2 separate regions of the Homo sapiens genome follow, and region 1 is linked to region 2. The links are contacts of gene promoters, found by promoter capture Hi-C in human tissues and cell types (Jung and others, 2019). All regions are on one chromosome and are shown on one strand. Each heading gives the region's core, a stretch centred on a gene start or on the middle of the fragment in contact. The rest is flanking DNA. Distances are from core to core; before and after follow the strand shown. Region 1 holds the start of MXRA7 (matrix remodeling associated 7). Region 2 holds the start of RECQL5 (RecQ like helicase 5).

What was found. The method cuts DNA at HindIII sites, captures the fragments that hold promoters and counts their contacts. A contact is called where the count stands out against the background at its distance.
Region 1: the fragment with the promoter of MXRA7 here is called in contact with the fragment with the promoter of RECQL5 in region 2 in 1 of the 25 tissues and cell types used here (aorta).

What each region holds. Positions count from the first base shown.
Region 1 is chr17:76,708,953-76,713,483 of GRCh38, forward strand. MXRA7 (matrix remodeling associated 7) reads right to left here and starts at 2,013. Exons shown (of 4, transcript NM_198530.4): 1 at 1,653-2,013. The coding sequence starts at 1,994. It also overlaps a transcript of JMJD6 not described here. RefSeq lists a silencer at 2,035-2,244. The HindIII fragment of the contact is 3,325 bases long and covers 256-3,580 here.
Region 2 is chr17:75,664,035-75,668,745 of GRCh38, forward strand. RECQL5 (RecQ like helicase 5) reads right to left here and starts at 3,120. Exons shown (of 20, transcript NM_004259.7): 1 at 3,010-3,120; 2 at 2,394-2,537; 3 at 1,017-1,138. The coding sequence starts at 2,523. SAP30BP (SAP30 binding protein) reads left to right here and starts at 3,304. Exons shown (of 11, transcript NM_013260.8): 1 at 3,304-3,444; 2 at 4,482-4,591. The coding sequence starts at 3,339. RefSeq lists enhancers at 2,245-3,444, 3,026-3,125, 3,296-3,545. The HindIII fragment of the contact is 12,020 bases long and covers 1-4,711 here.

The DNA.
Region 1 (4,531 bases), core at 763-3,262, 1.0 Mb after region 2:
ACCCATTCAGCTTCAGAGGACGTGCATTCACCCAGACAGTGGCAAATTATGCGAGTGGCCCTATTTAAACACCACTGAACCTATTCCTGTAGGTACCATGTGCTGAGAGCCGAAAGCCTTGTAGAAAGTTCTTTAAGCGCTGTGCCCCACAGGATTGAGCTAAGACAGGGCGCCGCTAAAGGACATTTTGCACTTCAGTCCAGAGCCTGGTGTGGGTGATAAAGGGCCAGCCCTGTAAGGCCAGGACTGACTGAGTGTGCATGACGGCTCCAGAACTGTCTAAAGGCCTCTCCTGCTCCCGCGAGACCTCGATGGAGGCAGGAATCCCAAATATGGGAGCAAACACAACAGATCAGCACATGTCCAAACCGCGCCCCCTCCACCATCACCGCGTGAGGTCTGGAAGCCCACCCCAAGCAAGAACGGCAGGGCCTGCCCCTGCTCCACCCCATTAAATGTGGCTGGTTAGAATCCTCTCTAATGACACAATTAGTCACCCACTTGTCAAGCAAAGCGCCTGCTCAGAGGGGGTCTGGCGCACTTACTCAGCAAAGAGAAATGCCTCTGAGCACAGCCTGGCTGCCTCCTCCTCCCCCGAAGGGCTTCTCTCCAGGGTAAACCATTGTGTCCAGCACAGGACAGAGTGGGCACGCAGACACGCAGGCACGCTGACAATGCGCATCCCGGCTCTCCTCCCTTCCAAGAAAAGGAGCTCAGGGGTAAGAACAAGGGATTACAATCCGACTCGGAGACCCTGGCGGTGGCCTGGACCGGCCAAGCGTGGTGAACTCCAGGGAACATGGGCACACAGTGTAGGGGCTGGGATGAGTGGATGAGGGAAATCCGACTCCTCTCAGATATCCACAGGCAGGACAAGGTGGCCAAGGCCGAGCTGATGGACAGCATGGCGGGAGGCCTGGGGCAGAGGCAGGGAGGGCCGCTTTGGGGTGCTCACTGGTGCTCCAGGAGGGCTTTATCCTGCATCTTCACTCCATCCAGGCCCAGCTTACCTACAACCCGGGGGAGTGGGGGTAGGAGGGTGTTAGATGTGTAGCTTGAAAACGACAATAAAAAGGACTGCTGGGATCGGGTGCCTTTTCTTTCAGTCCCAGCCCACGGGCTTCACAAAACGCCACAGCACTGACTCTGAAATCTGGACTTCAAATTGGCTGAAAAAGAAAAGCCAGCTTTCCTCCCTCGCCCCCCGAAAGTCCTACTTTTTAAACATCAAGATAACTCTCATGGCAGGCCTGGAAATAAGCCACAGGCACGTGGATTTGGGAACCGGTGGGCGGGAGGGGTCAGAAGTGGGTGAGGAGCAAAATTCCAAGCCCTGGTCCCGAGGCCTGGGAGCCAGCAGCTGCGGAGCACGCCCTGGGCTGGGAGAGGCCGAGGGGAGGGGAGAGCAAAACACCTCCAAACAAACTCCTTCGGGCTCGCCCCTCGCCACACTTTCTGGGGGAGGGCGGCGAGTTTGCGGGGCTGCGGCTTAGCATGGCGGGACCTGCATTTCCTGCGGGCCGCGGGTTCTGCGCTTCCTGGGGGCAGCCTGGGCTGGAGGCCGCGGCCCCGCTCCCTGGCTCGGCGGGGAACGGCAGCGGCAGCCGGAGCCCCGGGGGTGGGGAGGGGGCCGCGAGGGCCCCGGTGCGTACCTGCCTCGCCTCCACCGCCTGCTCCTCCGCCTCCGCTGGCGCCGCCGCGGGATCCCCTGGCCCTTCGGGCTCCCCCGGTCCCGCAGGCTCCCCGAGCTCCCCCAGCCCCGCGGGCTCTCCAGGCTCCTCCGGCCCCGCGGGCGAGGCCGCCGGCTCGGGGGCGCAGGGGCGGGACGGCGCCGGGGCCCCGGTGGCCTCGGCCGGGGGCGCGGGTTCCGGGGGCGCGCGGGCAGGCTCCGGGCTCGCGGCCGCCCCACGCCGCACCAGTAGCCAGGCGAGCAGAAGGGCCAGCGCGGTGGCCAGCGCAGGCAGCGCGGCCAGTAGCTCGGCCGGCGCCTCCATCGCGCCGCGGCCGCCGAGTGCGGGCCAGCTGGGACCCCGAGGGAGCCCGCCGCGCCCCGTCGCCGCGCCCGGTCGCCGCGCCCCGCCTCGGGGCGGAGCCCCCATCGCCGCGCCCCGCCCCCGCCCCCTCCGGCCCCGGGAGGGTGACGCACAGGCTGCGGGCGGGGGTGTTGAGGGGGCAGAGCCCTGACCACCTGGGAGGCACAGGAGGGCCAACCCCTGCCCGGCCTGGGCAGCCTTGACGCTTTGGGGCACAATTTAGCTCAGGTTCAATTTGAAATACTGTATGAGGTGCCCTTAGGTTGTCATCTTTGGCCTTAGTACGGCGGTTCGTCTTAGAGCATTTTGGAAATGTGGGAATGCAGAGAGACAAGCAAACCCGGGAAGCTTCATGGAAACGGCAGCCTGGATTGGCTTGTAAAGCAATCATAATGCCGGATTACGTTCAGCCACTGCCGTTTTTATAGGCATGTCAGGAGTTGCTTTTAATCCTCAGGGTTGCCTTAATGCACTTTCACAGAGGACATCTCCAGATCCCGGCCAGTGAATGCTCCCTTCGGAGCTGAGGCCAGCAGCCTTCAACACAGGCCTCCCTGTTAACAGTAACATGGCTCCCCCGCCCCTAGACCTGAAATTCAGCTGCAGGTCCTTGGTCAACGCTATTCCTCTTACCAGACTTTCTTCTTTGCACAATTCCAGAATGCATGCAGGGTGGGAGGGTACAATGAAGGAAATGAAGGCTATTGTTTTTGTTTCTCCAGATCCTCCCAGGCCTCTGTTGCTGAACAGTGGATTTTGAGATAAACACGTTGTAACCAAAAACATACTTTCCTACCACTCCCCACCCACTCTTTAGTTATTTTAAATAAACACAGGACGGGCATGTCAGGTATCACGCCAAACATAAGGCCTAATGTTAAAAAAAACACGGTTCCAGTTTTTGCTGAGGATGCCTTTAATACTTTTTTGGGAATATTACAGTGCCTGAGCTGATCTGTGATATAAACCAGATATTAGATGGAGTGCTTCTTTTTAAATGAAGATACACAAACGAGACCCCTCAGCAACAGGGAGAGCTGAATTCTGCTGCACTGCACGATATTAAGCGGGCCATGCACTTCCTTTTAGTGGTGGTTGATGAAAAGAGCCTATAAACTATAAAATGTGAAATAGGCTTTATCTACGGGCGACTAGCTTTTAACCACTGTGGAAGTTTCAGCCAGTGTATGGGCCTATTTTTTTTCTTTTGAGATGGAGTCTTATTCTGTTGCCCAGGCTGGAGTGCAGTGGCGCAATCGCGGCTCACTGCAACCTCCACCTCCCGGGTTCAAGCGAAACTCCCACCTCAGCCTCCTGAGTAGCTGGGATTACAGGCGCCCACCACCATGCCCGGCTAATTTTTTTCTGTTTTTAGTAGACAGGGTTTCACCGTGTTGGCCAGACTGGTCTTGAACTCCTGACCTCAGGCAATCTGCCTGCCTCAGCCTCCCAAAGTGTTGGGATTACAGGCGTGAGCCTCCGCGCCCAGCCAATTTTTTTTTTTTTTTTTTAAAGAGACAGGGTCTTTCTTTCTTTTTTTTTTTTTAAAGAGACAGGGTCTCACTATGTTGCCCAGGCTGGAGTGCAGTGGCTATTCACAGGCATGATCATAGCTTTCTGCAGCCTCGACATCCTGGGCTCAAGTGATCCTCCTGCCTTAGCCTCTTGGGCAGCTGGGATTACAGGTGTGCATCAATGCTCCTGGCCCAGGGCCTTAATTTTGTGCTCCATCCCATTGTTTTAAAGTGTAAATACATTTTTTTAAAGTCCTGTTCTGCTGACAAAGTACATTGTTGACTTTCAAATGAGTAAGAAAGAAAATAAGGACAAAACAATGCCAAAAACACAACTCCAAATCATGTTGCTTTATTTAAAATGATGAACAAGTTTCACCCAAGTGAAAGTTTAAAATACCAACCCAATAGCAGATCCACAGGCTTTCATGGCAGACCCCATGGCTAGACGGACGCAGAACTAGGAGACTGCTCAGTGTTCTGACAACTCCAGGAGGCACGAGTGTGCAGAAGACAGTCCCAGTTCTTCTGTAGCATCCAGTCACTTTGGAGACAGCTGGCCAGGGCTAGCTCTCCTCCCAGGAGGTTCACTGGGGCTTAGATGACATTTCTTTTTTTTTAAAGACAGAGTCTCGGTCTGTCACCCAGGCTGGAGTGGCTTGATCTCAGCTCACTGCAACCTCTGCCTCCTGGGTTCAAGTGATTCTCCTGCCTGAGTTGACCAAGTAGCTGGGACTACAGGCATGTGCCACCACACCTGGCTAATTTTTGTATTTTTAGTAGAGACGGGGTTTCACCGTGTTGGCCAGGCTGGTCTTGAACTCCTGACCTCAAGTGATCCACCTGCCATGGCCTCCCAAAGTGCTGGGATTACAGGGGTGAGCTACGGCGCCTGGCCGAAATTTCTGAACAATGAGACAAAGTTGAGAGCCACCGCCTGGGGGTGCAAGCTCACCTAGTTTTGCTGCATAGGATGTCACATCT
Region 2 (4,711 bases), core at 1,870-4,369:
CAAGAGCGAAACTCCATCTCAAAAAAAAAAAAAAAAAAAGAAAGAAAGAAATTAATGTATGTAAAGCACTTAGCACGAAGCCTGGGACCTGGTGAACATTCACCAAGTTATTACTGTAGTTCCCTCTCTACCTTCCTTCATGGTGGATGGCTCTTACCCACACAGCCACACTTCCTCAATTCTGATTCTATCAGCCCATCTGCAGGCCTTAAATAGTCAGAACACCTGTAGAGCAGATGTTAATAAGGTCCCAGACAGTTTCTCATCTTTTTTTCTGTTTCACATACTGTGCCCTTACCAAAATAAGCAGGACACCAGGGATTCCCCATATCAACTTAGCTATCTATCCATCTGCAACTTCTGTCTCAACATCACGAGTGCACGTGTGTGTATACATGAGACTGAGTGTATATGTGTGTACAAATACAGTTTCATACTCCTCTGAACAAAAAAATAACAAAGGAGGGTGAGGGACCTCAGAGGAGTCATTCATAACCTCCCAGAGTGATATGCACCAGTGGAGAACACTACATTGGGGAAATACAGAAACCCAATATAGCGAATGAGATAGGCAAATCATAGAAAATAAGAGGCAGGGGCGGGTGTGGTGGCTCACACCTGTAATCCCAGCACTTTGGGAGGCCGAGGTGGGCGGATCATTTGAGGTCAGGAGTTTGAGACCAGCCTGGCCAACATGGTGAAACCTCATCTCTACTAAAAATACAAAAATTAGCCGGGTATGGTGGCATACACCTGTAATCCCAGCTATATGGGGGGCTGAGGCACAAGAATTGCTGGAAGCCGGGAGGTGGAGGCTGCAGTGAGCCAAGATCGCACCACCGCACTTCAGCCTAGGCGACAGAGTAAGACTCTGTCTCAAAAAAAAAAAAAAAAAAGGAAAAAGAAAAAGAAAAGAAAATAAGAGGCAAAAGACCAATAGAGAAGTGAAATTTCCAGCCTCAAAAAACCTTCCCCGAATCTTTTTGGGCTACCATCTTCATTGCCCTAAGCCTCACCTGAATCAAAGCAATGAGAGGAGAGACTACAATGGTGATGCCTTTGGCCAACAGAGCAGGGAGCTGATAGCATAGGGATTTTCCTGCCCCTGTGGGCATGCACACAAAGACGTCCTTGTTACCTGAAAAAATACAAGACAACAATATCTCAGTGCTTCCTGCCTTTTCATTGAAGTTGTTGAAAATTAAATGAGAATGTAGGAAAAGCACCTAGCAGAGTGTCTGGCACATGGGAGGGTCTCGATGTAATCCTAATTCCCCTCCTGTCCTTTCTATGAAAAAGGCAAGGATCCTGGGAAACTTGGATACATGCCCAAACCATTTCTAGTAATGGTTAAAAACAAGATTTAAAAAGTCTGGGTCAAGCGCAGTGGCTCACGCCTGTAATCCCAGCACTTTGGGAGGCTAAGGCAGGCAGATCACGAGGGCAAGAGTTTGAGACCAGCCTGGCCAACATGGTGAAACTCTGTCTCTACTAAGAATACAAAAATTACCCAGGCATGGTGGCACGTGCCTGTAATCCCAGCTACTCAGGAGGCTGAAGCAGGAGAATTGCTTGAACCCAGGAGGCGGAGGTTGCAGTGAGCCGAGATCGCGCCACTGCACTCCAGTGTGGGCGACAGAGCAAGACTCTGTTTCAAAAAAAAAAAAAAAAAAAAAGAAGTCTGAGTCTGCTGTGATATGGATGATTGAACTAAACAGCCATGAAAGCAGAGTACTGCTAGATGAGTGGGTACATCTGTGTAGACATGAGAGGACATTACTTAGAGGGCTTTTGTTTAGACATGTATCATTAATATTACATTGCTGCTCGCCTCTTGGCAACTTCCATTTGTCACCGTATCTCAGGTTTATAACATTATTACTCTTTCCTTCTCTATCTGGGACCAAGGCCACTCAACCTGCAACAAGGGAATTACCTAGGAGGCCAGTGACCGAGTTAAGTTATTCCTACCACCCTCACTGTTGCTGTTCGTTTGTGTGTACAAACGAACAATAATGAGAATCTGAAGTGTTTTCAAAGACCATGTGTAAATCTAGCTATGAAATATAGACCAGCTGGGTGGTTCTGCCACTAAAACTACAAGCTTTGGGCCGGGCGTGGTGGCTCATGCTTGTAATCCCAGCACCTTGGGAGGCCGAGGTGGGAGGATTGCCTGAGCCCAGGATTTGGAGACCAGCCTGAGCAACATGCCAAGACCCCATCTCTAATTAAAACAAATAAACGAAACTACAAGCTTTGACAACTCTAAAGATTTCCAAATCCAGTTATGGACCAAAGGTGAGGCAGTACGAAGGGTGAGGAGGAGGGTGTTCTGCCGCAGCGTTATGGTATAGCCAGCATAAATTTAAAGGAAGGTAGCTTGGTAATGTTACCTTTTACTACAGCCATGGTCGCACTCTCCTGTAAAGGCGTCTTAAAAGAGTCAAACCCAAAGACCTTCTTCAGCGTACTCCGGACTCGCCGCTCAGGGTCAAAAGGAAAGGTGGTATGGTGGCTGCTCATCTTAGCCAAGAACAGTGGCCAAAGGTTAAGGCAAAGGTAGTAAAAGGTTGCCACGAGAACCCTCTGTTTTGCATTAAAAATACAGATTATTTTTCTGTAACAATTTGCTATATTACACTTAAATAATGTATTATTTTTAAGTAATAAAGCTGAAGGTGAACTGCCTCAAGCAATACATTCCTCAGTAATTAACATCTCCACTTTTACGCTCAATGAAAATGAAAACATTGAACTATTCCAGGCCACGGTATAGCACAGAGCTAGAAATCAGATCAAGAGAAGAAACATAAATGTCTTCAGAACAGCTTGGAGAACGGGGAACCGTTTTCCTAAGATCCACCACCTGCTCCTACTTCTATAAGCGCAACCACGACGACCGTTCTTCCACCCCGGGACCCCGAACCCCTTCTCCCGTCTTCCTGAGCCCAAGATCCGCAATTTTCTCTCTTGGCTGGCCGACACCTCCCTCTCTTCACCCTAAGATATCAGAACCGGCCGTGGTCCGCCCAAGAATTAAAGGCTGCTGGCTGGTTCCGGAACTGTTCGAAGACCCCTATACACAACCCCAACTCAGAGAAGCCAAAGCGCTGGGAATTCAGCTTTAGGCAGAACCCACGCAATCTTATATCCGTCGCGCAGTGATGACGTAGCGCGAGCGCTGGCATGAGGGCGGAGCCAGGCGCAGGAAACTGCCGTTTTGATTGGTTTCCAGTGTGGCGCGGGGGTCTCCTGGGATCCGAAAGAACCTGCCTTTCCGCCCGGAAGTCGGCGTCTTGAGTCATAGGAGTGAGCCACGCCCGGGCTGTGGGAATAAGATGGCGGGGAAGAAGAATGTTCTGTCGTCTCTCGCAGTTTACGCGGAAGATTCAGAGCCCGAGTCTGATGGCGAGGCTGGAATCGAGGCGGTGGGCAGCGCGGCTGGTAAGGCCCAAGTGCGAAGCTGGAAGGGGGAATCGGGTGTCTGCCCGGAATGCTGTACCCTCGCTGGGCGGGAGGGAACAAGATGGTCATTGTGCTCCAAGCACCGGACCCCGAAGAATGGTCCAGGGTCCGGGGTGAGATAGAGCATTAGAGACTGTGGACTAAGAATGAAGAATCTCCTTCCCGTTATTTCGATTAATTTGCCTAAACTTACTGAAAGACTCCGTGCCGGCTATAGTGATAGACAGAGGGATGGACGAAGAGGGAGCGGCTGCTCAGCCACTGCCTGTTTCCCCTGGGCTCGTTGTTTGATGAGGGAGAGCGATAAGTAAAACATACGTGGAAGATGGTAAAGATTGTGTTCGTTAACTTTATAACTTTTAGTTAGGAATGTGCCCTAAACACATCTTGGAGCTTTTAAAAACAAACGTATCTGATGCCCAAAGTGAGAGAACCTAATTCGGTAGAACTGGGGTAGGATGTGGGCATTTGTGAACTTTTTAAGGATCCCAGGTGATTTTTCTTATTTTGTGAGTTTTTAAAGCCTAACGGTGATGTTCTCCTCCTCAGGTTGAGAAGCACAATGTTAGATAATGGAAACAGATTCCTTTGGGAGAATAAAGAACAAGTTACCTAACAACATATCAGGACCTTAGCTTCCTCATCTGGAAAGTGAAGGGGATTGGATTAGGTTAGGTACTTCCATGTTTTGTGATTTTGTGTGGTCTCTTCCAGTCAGAAAGTTCTCTGATGGTTTCCTATAAACACTTTAGTGTTTATCTAGTGTTTATAGCATTAGAAACAGAATTTAGTACTCGGTTTTGTTCCCTGACCTTTTAATGATTTTATTCAGTAAATGCTGGCCTTCTCAGAGAGCCGAATCTGGGCCTATTGTAACTTAACATGAGATTTAGGTTCCCTTTGTATCTTCAGAGATAGTCTTGGCCACTCAAATCTCTGGACATTTTTTCTTACATTGTAACTCTTGTTTTTTTTTTCTTGCTTTTTGTTTGTTTGTTTGTTTTTTAACCTTTCAGAGGAGAAAGGCGGATTGGTATCTGATGCCTATGGGGAGGATGACTTTTCTCGTCTAGGGGGTGATGAAGATGGTTATGAAGAAGAAGAAGATGAGAACAGTAGACAGTCGGTAGGTAAATCTCCCAGATCCAGAGCTACTGAAAGCACAATTTCATTTGTCAGATTTTGGAACTGTGCCAACAGTGTTCCATTTCATGGTTAGCTCCATCCCTTGCTCTCCCGTTTTGTT